Regions from separate parts of the Homo sapiens genome. Here all the other regions are linked to region 3. The links are contacts of gene promoters, found by promoter capture Hi-C in blood cells and fetal thymus (Javierre and others, 2016). All regions are on one chromosome and are shown on one strand. The core of a region is centred on a gene start or on the middle of the fragment in contact, and the rest is flanking DNA. Distances in the headings are between cores, read along the strand shown. Region 1 holds the start of B3GALT1 (beta-1,3-galactosyltransferase 1). Region 2 holds the start of COBLL1 (cordon-bleu WH2 repeat protein like 1). Region 3 holds the start of TTC21B (tetratricopeptide repeat domain 21B).

Evidence for each region. Contacts are between HindIII fragments. The CHiCAGO score rates a contact against its expected background, and 5 or more counts as called.
Region 1: a fragment that was not itself captured here is called in contact with the fragment with the promoter of TTC21B in region 3 in 1 of 17 cell types (fetal thymus); the score reaches 6.4 in fetal thymus.
Region 2: a fragment that was not itself captured here is called in contact with the fragment with the promoter of TTC21B in region 3 in 1 of 17 cell types (fetal thymus); the score reaches 6.2 in fetal thymus.

The regions. Positions count from the first base shown.
Region 1 is chr2:167,292,442-167,296,832 of GRCh38, reverse strand. B3GALT1 (beta-1,3-galactosyltransferase 1) reads right to left here and starts at 3,832. Exons shown (of 5, transcript NM_020981.4): 1 at 3,499-3,832. RefSeq lists enhancers at 2,112-2,724, 3,953-4,391 and a silencer at 3,668-3,717. The HindIII fragment of the contact is 4,094 bases long and covers 778-4,391 here.
Region 2 is chr2:164,839,871-164,844,847 of GRCh38, reverse strand. It overlaps COBLL1 (cordon-bleu WH2 repeat protein like 1), which reads left to right and starts at 3,025. Exons shown (of 14, transcript NM_001365672.2): 1 at 3,025-3,138; 2 at 3,602-3,692. The coding sequence starts at 3,652. It overlaps LOC101929633 (a long non-coding RNA gene), which reads right to left and starts at 4,099. Exons shown (of 2, transcript NR_110574.1): 1 at 4,026-4,099. RefSeq lists a silencer at 2,842-3,051. The HindIII fragment of the contact is 940 bases long and covers 1,429-2,368 here.
Region 3 is chr2:165,951,755-165,956,814 of GRCh38, reverse strand. It overlaps TTC21B (tetratricopeptide repeat domain 21B), which reads left to right and starts at 3,039. Exons shown (of 29, transcript NM_024753.5): 1 at 3,039-3,130. The coding sequence starts at 3,110. RefSeq lists an enhancer at 2,275-3,024 and a silencer at 2,789-3,188. The HindIII fragment of the contact is 9,565 bases long and covers 1-3,424 here.

The sequences.
Region 1 (4,391 bases), core at 1,575-4,074, 1.3 Mb before region 3:
CACCCCAATAGAATATAAACTGCAAAAGGGTGGGGATCTTTGTGTGATTTACTCATACAAGTATTCATTGAATTCATACAATAGTGTATGTATTCATTCACACAGTCAAAGCAAACAGAACAGTATTTTGCACATAGTAGGAACACAGTACAATTTGTTAAATGTTATTTGAATAAACCAGTATCATAATAATAGATTAGTAAAGAGAACGAGAATATTCCTTTATGATGCACATTCATCATTCAGAATAGATTAGTCAATTTGTTTCAAATGCAGCATGGCGAAATTCCTTCTGAGAACCTTTCTAGTATGCATGTGTTTTTGTGTGGTGAGAGAGAGCGAAAGAAAGAGACAGACTGAAAGAGACAAAGAAAAAATGAGAATGAACTTCTGATTTACTAACCAGTTGAAGTTTTTAATTCCCCTAACATTGTTAGTTTTAGAAAAAGAATGATTTCACTATTAATTAAAACAAATCGCTATAAACCTCACTTTCTTACCTATTCACGTACAAACACTAATCGTGACTATCTGACAAATTAAATAAGTTTTATTTCATAAAATAATTGTATCTATTAGCATTGCTATTCATATTGATGTGATCTTCTTAGAAAAGTTATCCGATGAGTATTAAAATTAAAATTTTGTACAAGTCAAGAAGTGAATTTAGTGGCCTAGGGTCTTCACAAGTTGACATTACTTGTATTACTAAAATTCATCTAGAATATATGGCAGTCTAAGCTCATGGGCTGCCCTGAAGCAAAACAAGTTAAAGCTTAAGTACATTCGCAGAAATGGTACAATTTGAACTGCTTGTATAAATTAAGTGGCTGGCACTACCCATTAGCTCCCTAAAGCCTGTGCCCACCCCCAACCCCAACTCTGCATCATTTGTTTATGCTTAAACATATTTCCTATGGCCTTATCCTAATATTTATGACCATTGACACAATTCTCTGTACTTGATTATATTTGTCCTACTCGTTTTAAAATTATCTAAAAAAAGATTTCCTCCAAGTAAAAGTTCCATACACACACACACACACACACACACACACACACACGTACACACACAACCTTAAAATGAGCACAAAGGCTCTTAATTCCATTTTAAGACTTGTGGCTTACTCCAATACATAATGCAGTGGATATATAAAATGTTACTTGATGTCAAGGTGAAAAAGCACTTTCTTAGCCAAGTCGTTAAAATTTTCCTTAGAAGTTCCATTTTTAGTACTGGCTGTTACTGATAGCTTAGTTTTAATTGAAGTTTATTTTAAAATTGTTAATTAATAAGTATAACACACTTTAATCCTATTTCCCCCATATTAACCTATGAGGAAAACAAAAAGTTTTACCAGCACATAGTATTGCATAAAAGAAACACAAAACTAACATAAACTGCTTAGCCTGTTTTAGTAACCTTAACAAAGTCCTGAAGGTTTCAATAACTAAAATATTGCAATATTAATCACCTGGAAGCAGGTAAATTTTGTATAGAACAACCACCACAAACTATATACTTTCTTTAATCATATCAGAAAACCACACTTTTAAGCCAGACATGATGAATGCTAAGAAGAAAATACTTAGCACCAATTTTTTACTAGTCCAAATGCAGTATGTGTGACTAAAATCATAATAAAAAAATCCATTTACAGCACAACAATTAAGTGATGAAAACCATGAGACCATCCTTGGACCCAAAACTAACATCACTACTAGTTTATCGTAAGTTATTCATCTGCTTTAAAATAACTTAGTTGTTAAATTGGGAGAAAATAGAATCTTTACAATGAAAAATAACTATCGAAAAATGCCTGACATATTTGGACAGCTCCCTCCTGATTTTCTATAGCATTTCTATTACGTGCCTTACTTTCATTTTCTCTGGTTTACCAAATCAGAAATGAGCCCAATCAAAGTGGTTTCTGCGGTTTGGTTTTGGGTATTTTTGTTGTGTTGTGATTTGTTTTGTTTTGGGACAAAAGATCCCTCTAGTGAAAGAGATTACGGAGCTACATAACAAGAAAAATGCTGTCCCCAGTTCAAGATCCGCCTCCCTGTATTGAGCCAATTTTTGTTTTACCAAAGCTGGCAGGCAGGGAGCTGATGTTCCACCTCCATTCCCTGCTGCAACCCCAACGCCAGTCAAGTACCGGAGCCTCGCCCCATCTGAGACAGTGGGGAGAGCTCCTTAGTATTGAGGTATTTCAAGAACTTTCCTAAGCAGATACTCCCACGGAGACAAGGAGCCACATAGAAAACAATCGCCAAGAGTAAGTTTGTGCGTCCTGAGCAGGGATGGAGAACCCACTGCACTGAACTACGGAGATTCGGATCTGGCCCAGTAGCACCATCCATTTGCAGCAGCGCAAAGAATTCGCCTTCTGCGGAAGGCTTTGCAGCACGGGTGGAACTCTCAACAGCTTTATCAAATAAGATAATCTAATATGAAACAAAAACGCTCTGGAGGCAGCTGGGTACCCTAACCTGGTTACTCTGCGTGGTTAACGTGTCCTAGGTCTGATGGACCAGACCCCAGCGGGCCTGAACTTTGTCGGAAAGCGGAGCCGCCAGGCATTTGGCAGCTGCCAGAGGCGCACCAGGCCGGGTCTCAACCTGGGAGGTCAGCGGGCCAAAGCGGCCTGGGGAGGCAGTGGCCCCACCTGGACGCCGGGCCGTCGGGCGTCGGAGCCCCGCTCTGCCTCCACCAAGCTGTCCCGCTGCGCCCTACGCCGCCACCAGGCAGGAGGAGCCGCTACCAGTACCTCAGAGTGGGACTCTCCATCCTCAAGTCTGCGCTCCAGAAAAGTGTAGCAAGCCTCCCACGCGGGGCTTCAGACACCTAAAAGTCGCCACTCCCCCAAGAGTAACCTCCACCCCCACCCCCACCCCCAACTTCTCTTTCCTCCTTTTCTTCAGCAATGTGGACCAACAGTTACTTTTCCCTCTCTTCCCTTCCCCTCCGAAGTCCCCGGGGCAAAGTGGGACTTTGGGGAGCCTCGTGGAACGCGCCTCTCCCCTGGCGCGCCAGGTCCACAGCTCCTTTTAATCACCGCAATAAAGTTCAATTTGCTCGGCTCTTTACGAGCCACGGTGGACTTTCCCGTGCGCTCCGTGCGTTCTACCTCCCGCCGAGCCAACAGCATCCTACTCACTCCAGCCCAGCTTGGGTCCTTGAAGGACGTCGGGCCACGCAGAGGGGACCCACTGTTCTCGCTGCAAAGTGCCCCAAGCCGCGCGCGCGCACACACGCATCCACATCCACACTCACACAATGCCATCCCCGCGCTGTCAAAGTCTGTGAGCGCGGAAGGGAGAACGCACCAGCTGGAGCCGCACGGGCGCGGGCAGTAGCACAGCCCAGCGTCGGGACACGCAGTCCGGGTCCCAACACCTTCGTCGGGATGCCCCGGCCACCACGCGCCTCGTAACCCCCAAAGACCACGCCAGCCGTCCCGGGGGCGTCGCGGGCGCTGCCGGACAGAACCTTACCCGCGGGGCGCGTGGTCTCCGGCCGCTGGGCTGGCGCGCGGGCCACAGGGACGCTGCAGCCAGGGTCCCGAAGATGCTGCTGCTCCGCTGCCGCTGCCCCGATCCCCGGCGCCAGCATCACTTCTCTGCCGCCCCCGCCTCCTCGTGCTCCGCTCTCTCGGCCGCCCCTCCCCGGCGGCCGCCTGCAAGACCGGCAGCGCCGGCGGCGCGGCGGGGTGGGCAGCAGCAGAGGCGGCGGCGGCGCCCGCGCGAGCTCGCCCAGCTGCACTAGCCGAGCAGCCGCGGCGGCAGCCGAAGCACCCGAGCCCGGCTGCGCTTCCCCGGCGATGGCTCTGGCCTCGGCGACTGACAACGCCCGGCAGCCAATCGCTGCCTCGCCCCGCTCGGCGGGGGGAGACCAATCAGAGCGGAAGGCCCAAGGTTTTCCTCCGCCTTTGCTCAGCGGGCTTGTTTCCGGGAGAGGCAGCGACGCTGCTGGGGTTTGGGATGGGGGAGGCGCGGGAGGGGCGCAGGATGGGGGACTCGTGGCCCCGGAGCCTTAGGTGAGGAGGGAAAGCCGGGCCCGCAGGGGTGGGCCTGGGGCGCTTTCTGACCGCCAGGAGCCCGCGGCTTGGCAGGAAAGGGCGCCGCGGGGTGACTTTGTCCCCAGAGCCTCGTCCCTGCGGTTCAGCGTCTTGGCATCGCTGGGGCGAGGGGGGAGCGGGGAGGGGTCGCGGGACCCGAGTACGAACGGCGCGGCTGGAGAGCGAATCCCAGGAGGTGGTCGCCGCCTTGAAGGAATCACGCGAACAGTCACCAGACAGCGCCCCCGTCCTTCTCCCTTTGGCAGCTGAAAAGAGTACTACTTCTTAGGCTTCGAACCACTCCTCATAGTAATCAGCCACGAAGTGTCC
Region 2 (4,977 bases), core at 649-3,148, 1.1 Mb after region 3:
GTAGTCCCAGCTATTCGGGAGGCTGAGGCAGGAGAATCACTTGATCCTGGGTGGTGGAGGTTACAGTGAGCCAAGATCATGCCACTGCAGTCCAGCCTGGGTGACAGTGAGACTCTGTCTCAAAAAAAAAAAAAAAAGAGAATAAACCCCTCCAACTCTGCATTATGTAAATGAATAACTGAAACAAAGTGTCATGGGTCCTTGCCCTACCTAACAGAACCTACTGGGGGCCAAGAAAGGGAAGGGCTACTTCTATTTCTGCAATGAGGGAAGTATTCCTGAGGGGATAATACCTATGCTTAGGCACTTAAAATGATCGGCTGGGTGGTGAAATGAGGGGGAGATTCCCAAACGGGGAAATTGAGCGCAATCTTGGAAACGTGGGCAATTTTGAAACAGCTCTGCATAACTAGAAAGATTGGAAAACAGCAGTTTTCTCCTGTTATGTGAAAAGATTTATAGCAGCCAGGCATGGTGGCTTATGCCTGTAATTCCAGCACTTTGGGAGGCTGTGGTGGGCAGATCACCTGAGGCCAGGAGTTCGAGACCAGCCTGGCCAACATGGTGAAACCTTGTCTCTACTAAAAATATAAAAATTAGCCAGGCGTGGTGGTGGTCACCTGTAATCCCAGCTACTCGGGAGGCTGAGGCAGGAGAATCACTTGAACCCCAGAGATGGAGGTTGCAGTGAGCCGAGATCGCATCACTGCACTCCAGCCTGGGCAACAGGAACAAGACTCCTTCTCCAAAAAAAAAAAAAAAAAAAAAAAAAAGATTTATAGCAAATCTGTGATTATTATTTTGCTAATCACTGGCTACAGTGAGGATAGCTTAGTACCATTATGTGAAGACCACCAAGCTTGGTGGTGCTCTTAAGTGGTTTTGCCCAACATGAGCTTATTTCTTGCTTATGTGGATTCTGTTGTAGGTCCTGGGACTCTCCAGGGCAGCTGTGCTCTGGGTAATAGTTTAGCATTCCAGTCTTGTGTCACCTTCATTTTAATACATGCTTTCATGATTGCAGTAGCAAAGGAAGGGAACATAGAGACTCAAACACTGGCAGTAATTTCACCAGGAAATAAAGCATTTCATGTCTGTTCACATTTCCACTTATCAAAGTCACAGGGTCATACCTAATTTCCATGGGGTGGAGCATATAGTTCTCCCTAGGACCAGAAGGAGGACAGCAAAAAGTGGTAAGCACTGAAAATGCCTTCAGTGGTTACGAAATGTTATGAATGTTTTATGACTAAGATTAGCCTAATCTTACTGGTATTAGGGTCCATAATATTACTAGTATGTCATAAATTAAGGCTGAAACTAATTAAAGATTTAATCTTGTCTTGTGATTGAAAGTTATGGACTTTCAAGTAGTTTCACTGTTACTCAATATTTGCATCATTGTCTGTGCAAGCAACTGTAAAAGCTTGCACAGCTCTGTATTCAGAAGCATAAATGATTCATGAAATTGTTTAAACAGAGTTATTGTTTAAAGACTAAAACCCAGAGGTATTTAAATAAATTGCTTTACTCTTAGTTAAAATCTCTAAAAGCAACTTTTTCTAATATGGTTCCAGTATTGTAATCCAAATGAGCCATGTGTTTTTTTCTTTTCATATTTAAGATGCACTGAAAGGACATTATGCACTGAAAGAAATAAATACCAATGCCTGCGTGTGGTAGACAAATGGCACATTGCTAGGCATTTAGTTCAGCAATCTTTTTTTGTTGCTGCAATGGATAACCAACTAAAGGAGCATTAATATCAATTTAATTGTAATACCTGCCAAATGTTATTCTATCAGTGGCTAACACAGGTTTATTACTTGATGTTAGTGCTACAACAGAAGTCCCCTGCAGGATGTTCCTTCCTGTAAGATCTCTCCATCAGTTTAATCCAAATATGTTTTTAAAACTCTAATTTTAAATTCATTTCTTAATGTCACGTTGTTTTCTGAAAACACATTTTTGGGCCCATCAGAATGGCGCGCATCTTAAAACAATTGGCGCTTATGAAAAATATAAAATATGTAAATATATTAGGGTGGTGCAAAAGTAATTGCGGTTTTGTCATTACTTTTTAAAAAAAAAAAAAATGGCAAAAACCGCAGTTACTTTTGCACCAACCTAGTACCTGTCTGTCAGGTGTAAAGAATCATCTAAAGGGCATGCACGTGGATACTAAAACGTACAAACAAGCACACAGCTGTGTCTGATTCCTTTACCCTTGTAAAAGTTCCAATAAGTGAATACAATCTATTACTTAATTCTTAGTTTATAGACTGTCATTAGACATACTGTTGTCCAGTTCTCATGTCAGAGCTGTTATAGGCTTTTACAAAAAATGCCTCTGAAGACAGGGCAAGCTTAAACCTGCCACCAATTAGAAAGATCTGTGTCACAGGTGCGCTTTTAAAAGAATGGCAATCTTAAAGGTCAAGTTAAAAACACAAATTTAAAAAAACGATCCTGGACGTCGAGGGTCGGACTCTAGGGGGGGCAAGCTGCAGGCCCCACTCTGCGAGTTTCTGACCGCATTCCGCGGAGGCCCCAATCCTCCCCGCGGATCCTGGCAAGGCAGGTAACCTCCCTTCCCCCGCACCTGTCCGGTTCAGGCGCACCAGCCTTCCCGAAGCGCAGCCTAGCGGTGGGAATGGGAACACCTCGTCTGGGAGCTTTCTTTCGGTTCAGCTTCCCCAGCCGGACCCCAAAGACCCGAAGCCCTGGGGGAAGGAAATTCCAACTTGCTCCCGGCCCACCCCCGCCCCGTTCCTCTCTCCGGCTCGCTGCTTCCCTCGCTCCAATGCCGCCGAGCTGGTCCCCACTTATGTGCGGCCGTGCTGCAGAGGCGGCGGCGAGCTCCCGGACTCCGGGCAGGGAAATGGGGCAGGGTGAGTGAGAGAGCGGGCTCCAGCGAGGCCCCCAGCGCCCAGCCAGCGCCCGCACCCCGCCCGCGGGACAGGGGAGGTGCTGAGTCGGCCCTGCCCGCGCTGGGCTGAGCCTCGCAGGGGTTGCCGCTTCTCCATTCAAGTCCTGGCTTGAGAGCCGAGCGGCAAGAGCGCGGGCCGGGGAAGGGAAGAGTAGGAGAGGAAGCCGCGAGGGAGAACAGGCGAGCTACTGTCTCCTTTGGAAAAGAACGTAGGAGCCTTGGGTGGGAAAAGAGAGATCAGCCCTCCCAACTTCTCTTCGGGAAAAGTTTTCCTAGGGCGTTTTGTTTGTGCAAACTCGGCCGGAGGAGCCTGGGAGTGCGCTGCCGGCGTGGCAGCGGTGCCCGTGCGCCCGGCCCCGCTCCTCCTCCTTTTCCAGCCCCGGCGGCTCCTCTCCCTCCGAGAGGCGCCAAATGGCTACCCAGTAAACCCCACGGGGCGGGGGCTGCAGCGCCACCGCCTCCTCCGCCGTGCTCTGGGCGCCCGCTAGACCTTGTAGAGACGGCGGCGGCGCCCGCGGGCTGGGAGCCGGGGCCCGCAGGTGGAAGCGCACCCGGGAGGCGGGCCGGCCGGGGCTGGAGCGGCTCGGGCGGGCTCTTGACGCTCAGCCAGCTTCGCTCCGGCCTCGGGAAGGCGCGCGTCCCGCCCTGACCCGCCGGCCTCTCCCACCCCAGCAGTGACGCGCCGCCTGGGAGCTGGAGCCCGCGCAGCGCCCCGCAGGGCGATGGACGGCCGAACCCCGCGCCCGCAGGACGCCCCAGCCAGGTAAGCCCAGAGCGCCGCGCCGCCTCTCACCGGGGAGGGCGAGGCCGGCGAGGACAGCGAGGCCTCGGCCGTTTCACCTGGCTGGCAACTCGCTGCCCTGCCGGCGGCCTGACTCACTGACTGTCCTCCACGCGGCCGGGGAGGCTGCTTCCTCCCGGCCTTCTCGGAGGCCGCCCGGGCGGAGGGCTCGGGTCGTTTTTGGTTGCCTTCCTACCGGGGCTGCCCTGGGTTGCTACAGGCCAGCTGAATGCCAGGAATTGGGTGAGGAGTCCGGGAGCAAAAATTGTAACAAAGGGACCCTTGTTTGGGCTCTGGGGGAGCGGTGGACGATACCTGTAAGTGAGCTCCTGGGGAGGGAGGGCAAAAGTTTCCTTGGTCATGGGCTGAGGCCCAGGCAGGTGAGCAATGTCAAGGTGACTGTAGGGAGTGGGCTTTCTGCAGGCGGGTGGAGGGCGACAGGAGGGTGTGCCAGCTGTCAGCCCGCATGACAGTTCCGGGAGCGAGCGGGGTGCGCGCCTCTGATTGGGGGTGTGTGTGCCTGTGGCCAATTGCTGGTTCCAAAACCCAGCGCAAATCAGATTGCAAACAACTCTACTTTTCTTTTTATCCTCACATGTTTGAGAAGAGAGGAAGGGGGCTGTCACATGGTGAGTTAATATTAAATGAGGCATGTCTTCCTGCCAGATATGCTAATAGTTACCTTGTTAAGCGTTTGAGTAAACAGTAATGAGAACAGGTAGTTCTGCAAGAGATGAAGAAAACCTGAAAATAACCTTGGTCTTAGTAAATAGTTCAGGAGTAACCTGGATGCTAGTTGAGTTTCTCAAGTAGGAAACTCGTTTGATGTAGTACAAGATTTTTCCCCCCAGCATAAGTGTTCCTCCAACATAGTTTATTTTCTTAGTTAATCTGAATGCAGAAATGCCCTAATGAGAATACGAGCATTCCAGAAATAGAAACGTTAAGGAAAAATCGACGTTGTCACTAATGAATGAGACTTGTACAGTTTTCCTGATTTAAGAGTGTAGAAGTCATTTTTCCCTGGAACATGACAGGCGTTTCCTTAGAAGCAAGTCACAGCATGTTTATTCATCAGAGACCATGCGAACATTGGCAGCTGTCTAGAGGAAACATGGAAAAGTCTCAAAGCAACATGACTAATCTAAAAGATATTTAGTATAATTTTTACATAGAGGAAACATGTAGTGTATTAATTATTTCATTTTGCTCAAATTAACTTTCTCCTTTCTGCAAATATTACTCCCACTGTTGACTTTCATTTCTT
Region 3 (5,060 bases), core at 1,790-4,289:
TGGTGGGGACTTGAAGAACTTTTGTGTCTAGCTAAAGGATTGTAAATTTACCAGTCAGCACTCTGTGTCTAGCTCAAGGTTTGTAAACACACCAATCAGCATCCTGTCAAAACGGACCAATCAGCTCTCTGTAAAACAGCCCAATTAGCTCTCTGTAAAGCAGACCAATCAGTAGGATGTGGGTGGGGCCGGATAAGGGAATAAATGCAGGCCACCTGAGCTAGCAGGGGCACTCTACTGGGGTCCTCTTCCACTCTGTGGAAGGTTTGTTCTTTTGCTGTTTGCAATAAATCTTGTTGCTGCTCACTCTTTGGGTCTGCGTGCGTTTATGAACTGTAACACTCACCGCGAGGGTCCGCGGCTTTATTCTTGAAGTCAGCAAGACCAAGAACCCACCAATTCCGGACACATTAAGGTCTGAACGAAAATGACGTATTTCTGGAGACGAAGATGTTAACTGCTACATTATATTATCTAGCTTTATAGTGCTCATCATCTGGTAGAGAACATTAAACAAAAATGCACTATAACTAGTAATACAAGGACTATGCAAGTGTAATAAGTCTTATAGAGCAGGGGTCCCCAATCTGAGGACTGCAAATCAGTGCTACACAGCAGGATGGGGTATACAGCAGGACGGGGTACACAGCAGGAGGTGAGCTGCGGGGCAGGAAAGGGAGCGTTACCCCAAGCTCCACCTCCTTGTCAGATCAGCGAGGCATTAGATTCTCATACGAATGCAAACCCCATTATAAACTGTGCATGTGAAGGATCTAGGCTGTATGCTCCTTAGATAAGAATCTGATGATCTGAGATGGAATAGTTTCAACCCGAAACCATCTCCCCTACCCCTGTCCATGGAAAATTTATCTTCTGTGAATTGTCTTCCACCAAACTGGTCCCTGGTGCCAAAATGATTGGGGACCACTGCTATAGAGCACTACGTGTTTAATGGAAACTATTGGTTATACAATGCCTATTATGTGTCAGGAAGTTTTAATATGTCTGTAAGGCATTTAGTTTCTTTAGTAAATAAGGAAAATGAGGCTTAGGGAAATTACTTCCCCAAGTCACAAAAGTAGCTAGCGTAATAGGAGCTCCACCTCAGATGCAGAAGAGGGTATTCTTGCCACTACACTGTGATATTTTTATACCCATCCAGTTATGGTGATCCTTAAAGACTTCATGAAATTTGAAATGAACTCAGAAGAAGGAGATTTTCTCAGGTGAAGAAAGAGCTCAAAACAAAGTAGGGGAAAGCATTACCAGAAGAAGGAATATTTGTCCCACTGAGCGGAATAAAGGCTCCTTGAAGGGGAGGTAGAAGATAAGGCTTGAAAAGACGATGAGGTGAAGGGTCATGGATATCAGACTCAAAAGTTTGTAGCTAGTAAAAGTGAGCCGATAAAAATGTTACTGCTAAGGAACACATCGATTTTTCAGGAAAGACAAGAGTTTTTCCTGGCCTGAGATCCAAAATAAATTTCTTACATGAGATCTAGTAAGGGCACAGGGCACACCAAGTCACCGTGAGTGTCAAAGCAAATCTCAGAGTACTTTTAATCCAACAAACATTTATGAAACATCAGGCTTGGTGTTTTGTGCTAAATAATTCAACCTTAGAACAGAATTCAGTGAAGAGAATACGAGGCTAAATTAATATGACTTTCAAGATCTCCAAAAGGTAGGTTGATCATCTGTTCTGTTAACCATGATCCTGAGATATTTCCTTACAGATGAACTTTTCTCTTATAACCAAAGGTTTACAGTTCAAGATTATACACTTCATTGAGCACCCTGGTCCTGTGGTATTCTTTGCTGTATACCAAGTGCGGATTAATCCGCAGCTTTGAAAATCAAAGAGATATCACCAGTTGTTCATCACCACAGACATTTAGCTGGACTATAAATATTGGAAAGAAAAAAAAGTTGCTCGTGAAAATACGTGGTGAATTCCTTTAAAGAGAAACCGGTGAGAAATATTGCTTCACCTTAAAGCCTAGGATGGTAGCTACCGTTTTTCTCAAGACTGTCCTTACATAACCTATTGGCATGGGGAAAAAGTCAATGTTTATAAACTCCTTAAGAAACTTAAAATCTGGAAAAGGCAACTACGTATCATGTCAACTAAAGTAAGATAATTAACACTAGGATCAAAATTTGGAATCCACGTGAAAGATTCTGCAAAGATCACTTAAATCTCAGACCTTATGCACTATTTTAAATATTTATTTAAGCAGAAATAGAAAATCTTAGTCTATTATATTTCCATTTAATTTCCTGGACTTAAGAAATCTATGTGTGACTGATTGAGTTGCCTAATGGGGTGCAAACATAAAAATTTGCATTGGGATTCATTTTATTCTCAGTTTAAAATCAGTAGTATCATTGAAAACAAGACACTAATTTTCTGGAAGTTTAATTTATTTGTCCCTCTTATTATCGGGGCTGGTAAAAAAGGGCTAATTGAACACACATTCTAACAAAGATTGCAGCAACGCCTGCAAAGACGGGCCCAAGCGCACCGTATTTCTGTTAAGAACGTGTGATTTTTTTTTTCTGCGCCACCTTGTGGCCGTAAAACAACTTGCCCACGTGAAAGTTGACCGCTTTTTCCCGCGCCGGCAGAGCCTTGCTGAGAGCCGCACTGCGGGAATCCGCCTCCAGACAAACGTGCAGAAAATGGTGTCTTCCTTTACAACCAGTGACAGGAAACAGACTTCCCCTTCTTCATACTCCGTTTCCTTTATTCCTGAATTCCATTTCCTCGGCCCGCCCACCCACTGTCCTCAGACAGCCGTTTCCCAGTGTGACCTCCTTTTCCAGCTGCACTCTCCGGCGGAGGCCCTTTTCCCAGCCCGGACCCTCCCGGGCGGCCCTCGCAGCCCTCACCTCCGGGTCCCCGCCGCCCCTGCTCCATTACAGCACGATCCCCGCCACACAGGCCCGCCTCTCCCTCCGACAGCCAATCGCGGCGCGACCCCGCCCCTCCCGCTGGGGCCCGGGGCGCTAGAGCGCTCCGGGAGGCTAGGGGAGCTGAATTCTGCGTCTTCCTTTAGGCTGCGGCGAGACAATCCCCAGAGCCCCGCGGCCCGGCCTCGGGGCAGCCATGGACTCGCAGGAATTGAAGGTGAGCGGGTGAGCGGGTGAGCGGGTGAGCGGGCGGGCGGGCGGAGTTCCTTTGCGGCCTTTTGGCCCGGGGGCGCGGAGGGAGCTCGGGTGGCTTCGCTAGGCCGCTGTTTCCCTGCGGTGCCCCGGCTGCTCGGGTTGCGGGGTGGGCCTGCAGCCTCTGCTCACGGCCGGTCTCCGCGGGCCCTGCTGGGGAAGCCCAGGTCTGGGCAGCCCGCCCGCTCGGTGTTTCTGAATTGCTGGTCCCCATGCTGTTGGTTGTGTTTACTTTTGTATCATGTTTACTAGGAAAGCTTGGGTTACCTATGACACTGCGCCTCCGGGTGCGATTTTTAAGGACTTAAGGCAAACTAGTGTCAGCTCCCACACTGGACAGTAAAAAGAGCGCAGAAAGATTATATGAAACCCATTAAAGACGTAAGACTTAAAAGTGGAGGGGTCGTTATTTTAGGGTGATGGTCTTCTCTGTTTATCACTGACTCATTCATTCAGCAAATATTAATGACGGTCAACTTAAGAAAGGCTGATATAAAACAGTTAAAGACATGAGGCTTGAAAATAAAATAACTTTTCGGATGTTGGTCTTCTCTATTCATTTGTTCACTGAATCACTCGTTCAGCAAATATTTATGAAGGGTTACTGTATGTCCATTAGAAGCTGGAGATAGCAGTGAGCAAAACTGAACAGTTTCTGCCTTCTCAGATTTTACAGGCTAATTAATGCTGGGGAAAAACCCTAATTCAGTTGACTCAACAAATATTTACTGAATGCCTCCTATGTGTCTAGCACTGTTCTAAGCACTGAAATAATAAAACCAAGAAAAACTCTTCCAATCTTGGAGCTTACATTTGAGTAGGAGGAGTCAGACAACAAGTAGGTAAATGAAATGTGTATCCTGTGAGATGGTGATAAGTGGATGGAGGACAATTTGGCGATGTAGGAGGTTAGGGAATGCTGAAATGTCTTGTTTTTCTGCCTGAAGTTTTACATTATCCTCTGTTCTAGCTATCCCCCTATATCCTTACATTTTTTTATTCCCTTAAATGTATTATTTGCACTGCCACCCAAATGAACATTTTAATAAAAACACTTTAATGTAAAATGTAAAAATGGGCCTCCTCATTACTTAGACTTGAGGTTCAAGTCCAAGTACTTAATATGAGGCTTTTCACCCCACCTTCGTCTCCAACCTCATCATCCAATACTCTCTGTCTCACTTAAGCCTCCAGAGCAGAGAATAGCAAACTTTCTCAACAAAGGGCCAGATAGTACACATTTTAGACTTTATGGACCGTATGGTCTATCACATCTAATTGGCTTGTTCAAAACAGCCATAGACAATACTTAAATGAGCATGGCTGTGTTTCAATAAAACTTTATTTATGAACACTGAAATTTGACTTTCATGTAATTTTCATGTTATGAAATATTTCTTTTTTTTCCTTGACAGCTGGAAAATATAAAAACCATTCTTAGTTCACTGGCTGTACAGCCAGCCAGCCAGATATGGCCCACAGAGTGTGGTTTGCCAAACCCTGCTCTAGAGTATGGAGTGGCTTTTAGTCATCTTCATCACCACTGCCATCCCAATGTACCATTGATGACTTGTTATCTGTGTTGTTGCAGTTCCTCTTCCTAACTCCTGTACCTTCCTCAAGAATCATGAAAAGGAAATAGGAAGAGCGTGTACGTGTGTGGAGGGAGAATGAGGGGTTTGCAATTCAAGAGTCAGCTCTGAAATCCTCCCCAATAATCTTTCCCTTGATTTTAGTCATCCATCCTCCCCTCACACCACATTCAGTTTTCAATGCTGTCAAAATGTTGCTATCCCACATTCCCAAAGGAGTTTATAAGCTCTTTTCTTACATTTACTACATTATATTTCAGTTAGTCTTCAGATTACAGTCTCATCTGAAAAATGTAGGTTTTC